2 separate regions of the Homo sapiens genome follow, and region 1 is linked to region 2. The links are contacts of gene promoters, found by promoter capture Hi-C in human tissues and cell types (Jung and others, 2019). All regions are on one chromosome and are shown on one strand. Each heading gives the region's core, a stretch centred on a gene start or on the middle of the fragment in contact. The rest is flanking DNA. Distances are from core to core; before and after follow the strand shown. Region 1 overlaps ZSWIM5 (zinc finger SWIM-type containing 5). Region 2 holds the start of HPDL (4-hydroxyphenylpyruvate dioxygenase like).

Evidence for each region. The method cuts DNA at HindIII sites, captures the fragments that hold promoters and counts their contacts. A contact is called where the count stands out against the background at its distance.
Region 1: a contact is called between a fragment that was not itself captured here and the fragment with the promoter of HPDL in region 2, in 1 of the 25 tissues and cell types used here (adrenal gland).

The regions. Positions count from the first base shown.
Region 1 is chr1:45,175,693-45,181,472 of GRCh38, forward strand. All of the region lies in intron 1 of ZSWIM5 (zinc finger SWIM-type containing 5), which reads right to left. Among named protein-coding and RNA genes, the nearest start is that of ZSWIM5, 28 kb to the right of the region's middle. The HindIII fragment of the contact is 4,739 bases long and covers 1-4,114 here.
Region 2 is chr1:45,323,160-45,328,887 of GRCh38, forward strand. HPDL (4-hydroxyphenylpyruvate dioxygenase like) reads left to right here and starts at 3,736. Exons shown (of 1, transcript NM_032756.4): 1 at 3,736-5,551. The coding sequence starts at 3,990. The coding sequence ends at 5,105. RefSeq lists a silencer at 738-1,032 and enhancers at 3,768-3,817, 3,828-4,077, 4,838-4,947. The HindIII fragment of the contact is 17,678 bases long and covers 1-5,728 here.

The sequences.
Region 1 (5,780 bases), core at 495-2,994, 150 kb before region 2:
CTTCCCTCCTCAGCCTCCCGAAGTGCTGGGATTATAGGCATGAACCATGGCACCTGGCCTTTAAAAAAAAAAAACCATTGACACAATGAACTCATGGGTTTCTATTTCATTCAATGGGTTGGTTATATCCATTATTATCATTATTTTGACACTCAATTCATCCCATATTTGGCTAATGGGAATCTCTTCAAAGCTGGCTTTTGTATCCTTTTTGATGTGTTGCTATAATTCTTTAAGAACCTCCCTGCTTTCTGGCACAAGAACATGTTCAAGGCTCATTTGATACTTTCTCTGCCTCACCCCTAAATTCAGCCATTTCTCCAAGGAGGCTTTGTTCCTTTTATCGGAGAAAAGTACTTGGAAACCAAGATATGGGCATTAGGTGTGCTTATTGCTATTGGGATATTACTGCTCTAAGGCCCTCTCAGTTAACTGAATGCCATATATATATATAATATATATTATATATATATTCCAATATATACTAAAAACCATGAGTTCACGTGGGTATCTCCAATTACAATCCAAAACCCAGAGTTCATTCACCTTTTCTCCCTGGTCTTTATCTTTTCTTATCTTATTTTATTTTTCAGACGGAGTCTTGCTTGTTGCCCAGGCTGGAGTGCTATGGCACAATCTTGGCTCACTGCCACCCCCACCTCCTGGGTTCAAGCGATTCTCCTGCCTCAGTCTCCTGAGTAGCTGAGACTACAGGTGCATGCCACCACACCGAGCTAATTTTTCTATTTTTTAGTAGAGACGGGGTTTCGTCATGTTGGCCAGGCTGGTCTTGAACTCATGACCTCAGGTGATCCACCCGCCTTGGCCTCCCAAAGTGTTGGGATTACAGGCATGAGCCACCGCGCCCGGCCTGGTCTACATTTTAGCTACTTTTTCTGATAGTGAGAAATTTGGCTCCTGTTATCCTTAATTGATTTACTTAGTTGATCAATATCTATAAATAACCAATCTTTCATTGCCACCACAGCTCCTCCCTGCCAATAAGGACATTCTTCTCACTGTGCTCAAGCTCAAAAAACCTGCACCTACTGCTGCCACCCCCTGCTATGCCCACTTCACCCCATCTGAACACTAACACCCTATGGCTCTACACTCCCCTTCACCCCTATACAAAAGTCATCCTCAACCCTTTCAGACTCTGACATCTCAAATTATATCCCCCTTCATGTGGATACCCTCCTCACCCCACTTTGGCTCTAGCACCCCATGCTAGGCCACTGCTCCAGTTGGGCTCCAATATACCCTTTCAGGCCACTGCTACTATCCCTTCTTCCCATCTCACTTCCTTTTCTCTTGCTTCTCCCAGGTTTGGACTAAAGTTTTCAGGAAGGGAAGTCAGAAGAAAAGGGAATGATTAAGGATTCAGGAACTAGAGAGAGGAGGGAAGAGAAGAGCAGTATCATTGTATGACACCTCATAATTAGCTATTTTGCTATACAGTGATTATGTTTCTAAAACGTATGCAGAAAATAAGGAATAAACACTAAAGAAAATAATAGGAAAGAAGAAAAGAATATGACACTGAAAAAGAAAAAAATTTCTTAAATGTACTGAATGCTTGTTCTTATTTATTTTACACTTCCAATCATTAAGAGTTGTTATAGACTCTAACAAGGCTATGAACTATGGCCAACCCCCTTTTCCACATTGGAACTGAAAAACCTACACCATATACACAGGGAATTTAAGGTACTTAAGTTTGCAGGTTATACAGAGTGGTAACAGCAATAGAGCAATTTCTACAATTCCTACAACCCAAACTGTGAAATCAATAATGGTGAAAGTTACAGAGGGGTATGCAAAATATACCTTTAATAGCAAAATATTTCCCAGGTCTGAATCTCATGAAATGAAAGATGGGCATAAAAGGGGATTCTCTCTGCTGCTTTATAAGACAATTCGGGGAGATTGAGCAATCAGTTGCTACTTGATACCAAGCAGTAACCAGCTCTATGACACATCCTTATGTTGCCTTACCCTCCTTCCCTGTCTCATTTCATTTTCTCTCACTCTTGCTTCCCTGGGATCATATTCTTTAATAACACAATAGCACATTAAAAAGCATTTCCCAGTCTAATGCAAGCAGAAAAATCCCTTAATACAATGCATTCTATGGCACAAACAACACTGAGTTTTGTGACTTGATAAGGACCAAGGATTCCAGATTGGAAAGGAAGATAAAAGTTTATCTCTATTTGAGTAATAAATTCATTCCACAAGGGTGTTGGCCAGGCTGGTCTCAAACTCCTGATCTCAGGTGATCTGCCTGCCTTGGCCTCACAAAGTGCTGGGATTACAGGCGTGAACCACTACACCCGGCCTTATGTGATTTTATCTAAGGGACTTAAGCATCCTCAGGTCCTAGGGGGTTGTGAAACCAAAACCCCACGGATAGCAAGGGACAACTGTATCTTCAAATTAGACAAATGGCGCCGGGCACAGTGGCTCACACCTGTAATCCCAGCACTTTCGGAGGCTGAGGCAAGCGGATCACCTGAGGTCAGCAGTTGGAGACCAGCCTGGCCAACAGGCTGAAACCCTGTCTTTGCAGAAATGAAGGGATAGCTGGGTGTGGTGGCGCATGCCTGTGGTACCACCTACTCGACCGACTGAGGCTGGAGAGTCGCTTGAACCTGGGAGGTGGAGGATGCAGTGGGCCAGGATGGCGCCACCACACTCCACCCTGGGTGATAGAGTGAGACTCCGTCTCAGAAACAAAACAAAACAAAAATTAGACAAATGCTACATTAATGTTTGGGTGGTCAGATTCTACTTTGAAGTCTGAAGTTTGCAGATATGCCTATAGATTTTTGGAGTTTACCACTTTCCTATTCTGTATCATTAATGTAATATCTTAAATTACTATATATTTGACCATTTTTCTGTATTTAGTAAGAAATTTGCATTTCTGATTTGATATAACAAAAGTTTTAATGTAATTTATATTAGATTTTGCATTTTTTATCACTGTTATACTTTAACGTAAATGACTGATTTAATTGTATTAGTATTGTGAACAATCATGTGGAATGTTTTGAGACAGAGTACTCTATTGGTGAATATAATTTTATGGCTTTTTTCACTTAGTAAGAACCTTTCTATCAGTGTGGAAAACTAAGAAAACTGCTCTCTGCTGTATAATCTGGCATTCATTGTAGATTAAAGCTTATTTTTCTGTGAATAAAACATTCAATAAGATACTATTTAAAATTAAAATAAATAAATAAATGAATGAATTCCACAAGGTTAGGGGTACAAGATCAACATACAAAAATCAGTTATATTTCTATCTATATACACTAGCAACAAACAATTAAAAAATGAAATAAAGGAAACAATTCCATTTATGATAGCATGAAAAAGAAAAAAATATCTTAGGAGTAAATCCAACCAAGGAAAATAAGTCATTCTACCAAAAAGACACATACGTGTACCTGTATATTCATTACAGCACTATTCAAATTAGCAAAAACATAGAATCAGCTCAGGTGCCCACCAACAGTGGGTTGAATAAAGAAAATGAGGTACATCCCATGGTACATATACACCATGGAATACTACACAGCCATGTACTTCACAAAAACATGGATGCACCTGGAAACCATTATGCTATGTTAATTAATGCAGAAACAGAAATTCAAAGACTAAATGTTCTCACTTACAAGAAGGTGCTAAACACTGGGCATATGTGGTTGTAAAAATGGGAACAACAGACACTGATGAATACAACATAGGGAAGGGAGAGGGTTAGGGTTGAAAAAAAATACCTATTGGGTACTATGCTCACTACCTGGGTAACAGATTCATTCGTACGTACTCCAAACTTCAGCACCGTGAAATATTCCTTTGTAGCAAACCTGCACATGTGCCCCCCCAATTCTAAAATAAAAGTTGAAAAAAGATAAAACTTCAACAAAACATTGTTGAAAGAAATTAAGATCCAATAAATGGGGAGACATCCCATGTTCATGGATCAGAAGATGAGATGTTGTTATGATGGCATGGTAAACAGAATAATGCCCCTCACCAAATATGTCCACACCCTAACATCCAGAACCTGACAAAAGGGACTTTACAGATGTGATTAAGATTCTTCAGATGTAGCAATTATCCTGGATTATCTGAGTGGGTTCAATGTAATCACATAGTCCTTATAAGAGGGAGGCAAGAGGCTTAAAGTCAGAGACAGGAAATGTGACAATGGAAGCAGAGGTTAAAATGATATGGTATAGGGAGGAGCCAAGATGGCCGAATAGGAACAGCTCTGGTCTACAGCTCCCAGTGTGAGCGACACAGAAGACGGGTGATTTCTGCATTTCCATCTGAGGTACCGGGTTCATCTCACTAGGGAGTGCCAGATAGTGGGCACAGGACAGTGGGTGCAGCGCACTGTGCGCCAGCCGAAGCAGGGCGAGGCACTGACTCACTCGGGAAGCCCAAGGGATCAGGGAGTTCCCTTTCCTGGTCAAGGACAGGGGTGACAGACGGCACCTGGAAAATCGGGCCACTCCCACCCGAATACTGCGCTTTTCCGACGGGCTTAGGAAACGGCACACCAGGAGATTATATCCTGCACCTGGCTCGGAGGGTCCTACCCACGGAGTCTCACTGATTGCTAGCACAGCAGTCTGAGATCAAACTGCAAGGCAGCAGCGAGGCTGGGGGAGGGGCGCCTGCCATTGCCCAGGCTTGCTTAGGTAAACAAAGCAGCCGGGAAGCTCCAACTGGGTGGAGCCCACCACAGCTCAAGGAGGCCTGCCTGCCTCTGTAGGCTCCACCTCTGGGGGCAGGGCACAGACAAACAAAAAGACAGCAGTAACCTCTGCAGACTTAAATGTCCCTGTCTGACAGCTTTAAGGAGAGCAGTGGTTCTCCCAGCACGCAGCTGGAGATCTGAGAACGGGCAGACTGCCTCCTCAAGTGGGTCCCTGATCCCTGACCCCCGAGCAGCCTAACTGGGAGGCACCCCCCAGTAGGGGCAGACTGACACCTCACACGGCTGGGTACTCCCCTGAGACAAAGCTTCCAGAGGAACGATCAGACAGCAGCATTCACGGATCACGAAAATCTGCGGTTCTGCAGACACCGCTGCTGATACCCAGGCAAACAGGGTCTGGAGTGGACCTCTAGCAAACTCCAACAGACCTGCAGCTGAGGGTCCTGTCTGTTAGAAGGAAAACTAACAAACAGAAAGGACATCCACACCAAAAACCCATCTGTACATCACCATCATCAAAGACCAAAAGTACATAAAACCACAAAGATGGGGGAAAAACAGAGCAGAAAAACTGGAAACTCTAAAAAGCAGAGCGCCTCTCCTCCTCCAAAGGAACACAGCTCCTCACCAGCAACAGAACAAAGCTGGACGGAGAATGACTTTGACGAGTTGAGAAAAGAAGGCTTCAGATGATCAAACTACTCCGAGCTAAAGGAGGAAATTCAAACCAAAGGCAAAGAAGTTGAAAACCTTGAAAAAAATTTAGACGAATGAATAACTAGAATAACCAATACAGAGAAGTGCTTAAAGGAGCTGATGGAGCTGAAAGCCAAGGCTCAAGAACTACGTGAAGAATGCAGAAGCCTCAGGAGCCGATGCGATCAACTGGAAGAAAGGGTATCAGTGATGGAAGATGAAATGAATGAAATGAAGCGAGAAGGGAAGTTTAGAGAAAAAAGAATAAAAAGAAACAAACAAAGCCTCCAAGAAATATGGGACTATGTGAAAAGACCAAATCTGCATCTGATTGGTATACCTGAAA
Region 2 (5,728 bases), core at 2,486-4,985:
TGCTGGGATTACAGGCATGAACCACCGTACCCGGCCCTTTTTTTTTTTTTTCTTTTTTTGAGATGGAGCTTCGCTCTTGTTGCCCAGGCTAGAGTGCAATGGTGCGATCTCGGCTCACTGCAACCTCCGCCTCCTGGGTTCAAGCAATTCTCCTGCCTCAGCCTCTCAGCTTGCTGGCATTACAGGCGTGCACCACCATGCCTGGCTAATTTTTCTTTTTCTGAGACGGAGTCTCGCCCTGTCGCCCAGGCTGGTGTGCAGTGGCTCAGTCTCGGCTCACTGCAAGCTCCGCCTCCTGGGTTCACGCCATTCTCCTGCCTCAGCCTCCCGAGTAGCTGGGACTACAGGTGCCCGCCACCACGCCCAGCTAATTTTTTGTATTTTTAGTAGAGACGGGGTTTCACCGTGTTAGCCAGGATGGTCTCGATCTCCTGACCTCGTGATCCACCCGCCTCGGCCTCCCAAAGTGCTGGGATTACAGGCGTGAGCCACCGCGCCTGGCCTAATTTTGTATTTTTTTTAGCAGAGATGGGGTTTCACCGTGTTGGTCAGGCTGGTCTTGAATACTTGACCTCAAGCTATCCACTCGCCTTGGCCTCCCAAAGTGCTGGGATTACAGGTGTGAGCCACTGCACCTGGCTGCCCCCGTCCTTTTTATCACTATAGAGTCTGGACTGACGGAGCAGGAGCACTGCCATCTTGGACAAGCACTGCCATTTTAAGTTTTGCCTTGATCAAAAACTGCCTAAATCCAAAGGGCATCAGCCTAATGGCTAAGGTCAGCATGACCATAAACCACAAATGACATCTCTGACCAGAAACGTTCCAAGCCCCTCCCCAGCCAGAGACATGCCAGCCCCAAGATAACCTCCCCTTCGGCTGGAGAGGTGTCAGCCTCAAGATAACCTCCCCTCCAACCAGAGACATTCCAACTCCACCATAAACTTCTCCCTGACACAGAAACATTCCAAGCTCTCTCCAATAAATACTGTTAGTCTGGGCCAGACGCGGTGGCTCACGCCTGTAATCCCAGCACTTTGGGAGGTGGAGGCAGGCGGATCATGAGGTCAAAAGATTGAGACCATCCTGGCCAATATGGTGAAACCCGTCTCTACTAAAAAAAATACAAAAATTAGCTGGGTATGGTGGTGCGTGCCTGTAAGTCCCAGCTACTTGGGAGGCTAGCAGGAGAATCGATTGAACCCGGGAGGCGGAGGTTGCAGTGAGCTGAGATCTCGCCACTGCACTCCAGCCTGGTGACAGAGTGAGAATCCATCTCTAAATAAATAAATAAATAAATAAATAAATAGTCTGTAAGAGAGAGCACTCCTGACTGAAATCAGCCAGAAGCCCCTCTCAGGTTTGATTTTTGAGCTGCTTTTTGTGTTTCTTTCCTCTTTCTTTAACTCTTACTGTGACTTTGAACGGAATGGGAGGCAGATTGGCCCTAAGCAGTTCCCAGCTTGACTTTTCCTTTTAGCTTAGTGATTTGGGGCCCCCAAGATTTACTTTCCTTTCTTACTACCCAGGATTCCTTGGGGTGAGCTGCTCATTGAGTAGGCTGCCTAGCCTTTGGCCCATGCCAGTGAAGCCCCTGTCCCCATCTCTCTAGTAGGCCACACAACACCTTCTGGGAGGTACCACTGGCATTGTATCATGAGATAAAATAAAACAATAACTAAATAGCCAGGCATGGTGGTGTGCACCTGTAGTCCCAAGCTACTTGGGAGACTGAGGTGGAAGGATTGCTTAAGCCCAGGAGTTGGAGCCTGCAGTGAGCTGTGATCATGCCACTACACTCCAGCCTAGGTGACAGAGTAAGACCTCATCTCTAAAAAAACTTTTTTCTTTTCTTTTTTTTTTTTTTTGAGACAGAGTTTCTCTCTTGTTGCCCAGGCTACAGTGCAATGGCATGATCTTGGCTCACTGCAACCTCCGCCTCCTGGGTTCAAGTGATTCTCCTGCCTCAGCCTCCCGAGTAGCTGGGATTACATCTAATTTTTTGTATTTTTAGTAGAGATGGGGTTTCACCATGTTGGCCAGGGTGGTCTTGAACTCCTGACCTCAGGTGATCCGCCTGCCTCAGCCTCCCAAAGTGCTGAGATTACAGGTGTGAGCCACTGTGCCCAGCTCTGAAAAACTTTTTAAAATAAATAAATATTAGAATATGTGGGAAAATAAAATTAATTAAAAAAAAAAACAGTAACTACAATAGCAACAGCTACTATTTACTGAACACTTACTCCACCTCACTTAATCACAACTCTTTGAAGTAGGTACTATTATTTCCATTTTTACAGATGGGCAAATTAAGGCTCAGAGGCGTTAAGCAACTTGCCCATACAGACAGTAAGTGTTGCTGGTGATTCAAACCCAGGTCCGTCTGGCTTTTGGAACTCATGTCCTCACATTCACTGGTCTGCAGAGTAGCACCAAGTACCTTTTACCACCCTGACCAGCTCCTGGGTACTGCCCTCCTGCCTGCAGGCCTGAACACCATGACATCCAGCTAGCCCCTGTCCCCTATGACATCCTTCTCCCTCTTGCCAATGAAACCCAGTAGATCAGGCTGCCTGACAAAAAAATTTCTTGTGATGCCTTGGACTGTGGCATTCATCCTAAATGCCTCCCTAACAGCATGGCCCATTGCTCCTCTAAGAGTCTGGCTCACACTCTTACTGAGTTTTTGCTTATGCCCTTTGCCCTTCTTGGATGCCCTTCCCTAACCCTTCAAGGGCCACTCAGTTGAAGTTCCAGAAGACTACAAATTCCTCAATCCAGTCATCTCACACAATTCTGGGTTTCAGAGCCAGAAGTGCCCCCACCACAGAAATCTCTGGCTCAATGCCAAGTCAGGAAGCTGCAAAGAGCAAGGAGGGCCTGTGTTCCAGTCCTCAAAGGATGGGGAAGGGGAATGACAGCCAGGCAGCTGTTCCTTTCAGATCCCGAACCGTCAGATTTTTCCTCCAAATCTTGCTTGGGACAAGGGGTTAAATGATGTTGACAGAAGGGTGATTGAAGAAAGAGACAGGACTGGTTGAGAGATTGCCCAACACTTTGGGAGGCTGAGGTGGAAAGATGGCTTGAGCCCAGGGGTTTAAAACCAGCTTGGGCAATATAGCAAGACCCCATTTCTAAAAAAAAAAATTATTTTTAATTAGCTGGGTGTGGTGGCGTCCGCCTGTGGTCCCAGCTATTTGTGCACTGAGGCAAGGAAAATCGCCTGAACCCAGGAGGTGGAGGCTGCAGTGAGCTGTGATTGTGCCACTCCAGCCTGGGTGACAGAGTGAGACCCTGTCTCAAAACATATAAACGTGTGTGTGTGTGTGTGTGTGTGTGTGTGTGTATTCCAGGGAACATTAAGACTTAGAGGCAAACTCCAGAACTTAAAGAAAAAACATGAAAGTGCTAAAAAATTCCGTGCTTGTGGAGAGAGAATTCCAACTCTTTCCCTGAACCCGGGCTGAGTCCCTTCGCTGTGAGGTTGGGGGGATGAGTGGGAGCCCAGTGCCTGGCGCCGAGTGAAGGCAGCCATTGTGAGTTCCTGGGCTGGGGAAGGGAGGCTCAGTGCCCAAGGATGTGACCAGGCGTGAGGCCCGGGGAAAGAGCAGCGCGGCGACCCCGCAGTATCCGAGGCGACAGGGTGTGGGGGAGGGGGTGGGGAGTCAAAGGCGGAGTCACGGGCTCCGCCCTCTTTCTCCTGCTTGGCGCGAGCACAGGCACCGCGTGGTTCTCACAACCAGCAGCTCGGCTCACTGAGACCCGGTGGTCCAGACGCTGCTCCTGGCTGGGGTGGCGCTGCAGGGAGAACCGCGAGCTCTCAGGGGTCGGCGGGTGACTTCTTTCCGGAAGAAAGCGAGGAACGCGCTCTGCGGGGTGAGCCGGACTCCCCAACTCCGGACGATCAGCCCAGGACTGAGAGCCCCGAAGTCCCCAACCACAAGTAAGCGGCCCCAGAAGGACAAGTCTAGGTCGCCGTCCAGAGCGCCATGGCCGCGCCCGCCCTTCGTTTGTGCCACATCGCCTTCCACGTGCCCGCCGGGCAGCCCCTAGCCCGGAACCTGCAGCGCCTCTTCGGCTTCCAGCCCCTGGCTTCGCGGGAGGTGGACGGCTGGCGGCAGCTAGCCCTGCGCAGCGGCGACGCGGTCTTTTTGGTGAACGAGGGCGCAGGGTCTGGAGAGCCGCTGTACGGCCTGGATCCGCGTCACGCCGTGCCCAGCGCCACAAACCTGTGCTTCGACGTGGCGGACGCCGGCGCTGCAACCCGGGAGCTGGCAGCGCTGGGCTGCAGCGTGCCTGTCCCTCCCGTTCGCGTGCGGGACGCGCAGGGTGCCGCCACTTACGCCGTGGTCAGCTCGCCTGCCGGCATCCTCAGCCTGACCTTGCTGGAGCGCGCTGGCTACCGCGGACCCTTCCTACCCGGCTTCAGGCCCGTGTCCTCTGCGCCTGGCCCCGGGTGGGTCAGCCGCGTGGACCACCTGACCTTGGCCTGCACCCCCGGCAGCTCCCCCACACTTTTGCGCTGGTTCCACGACTGCCTGGGCTTTTGCCACTTGCCGCTGAGCCCAGGTGAGGATCCCGAGCTGGGCCTCGAAATGACAGCAGGGTTTGGGCTTGGGGGACTGAGGCTTACAGCCCTGCAGGCCCAGCCGGGCAGCATTGTCCCCACTCTTGTTCTGGCTGAGTCCCTTCCGGGGGCGACGACACGACAGGACCAGGTGGAGCAGTTCCTGGCCCGGCACAAGGGGCCAGGCCTGCAGCACGTGGGGCTGTATACGCCTAACATTGTGGAGGCCACTGAGGGGGTGGCAACTGCTGGAGGCCAGTTCCTGGCTCCCCCTGGGGCATACTACCAGCAGCCAGGAAAGGAGAGGCAGATCCGAGCTGCAGGGCACGAGCCTCATCTGCTTGCTCGACAGGGGATCCTGCTAGATGGTGATAAAGGCAAGTTTCTGCTTCAGGTCTTCACCAAGTCCCTTTTTACTGAGGACACTTTCTTCCTGGAGCTGATTCAGAGGCAGGGGGCCACTGGCTTTGGTCAGGGCAACATCAGAGCTCTGTGGCAGTCCGTACAGGAGCAATCTGCCAGGAGCCAGGAAGCCTAAGGATGCCCAGGGCTGGGTGCAGCCAGCTGTCCTGCAGCTCTGGGGAGACCAGCACAGAACTGAGGAACATCTGCAGGAGGCCCAACTAGTGAAAGGCTTTGCCTCCGGGGGGCAGGTGTGACTTCCATTTCATCAGTGCCTGCCAGAAGCTGTGTCTCTCATTGGGCTCCAAAGAGGTGGGATTTTTTAAAACTAAAACATTTCTTATATACAGTCTATAATAAATATGTAAGATACAAAGAACAATAAAAGAATTACACACTAGGAAATAGAACATAACCAATACTTTCGAGTCCTCCCTGTGTCCCGCTGTGATTCTATTTCCTCCCACCCACTCCTCAAATCCTGTCATTATTAGCCCTTTGCTTTTCTGTATTGTTTCACTCCGTATGTAACATAACCCTAAATAAATTATTTCGTATTTGAGGTAGGAATTTAAAACAGAACAAATCTTCTCCTGTGCTTCCTCTCCCCCTAGGGAGCGACCACTCAGGTGGGGAGGGGCTGGGTGAGAGTTGAGCCCAACTACCTACTCCAGAGTGATGCCACCACTCCAATTAGAGCTGACCTGAGACGTAAACAGAGGGTGTTGTGTGTCAGCCACTGGCAGGTTCTCCCTGTAG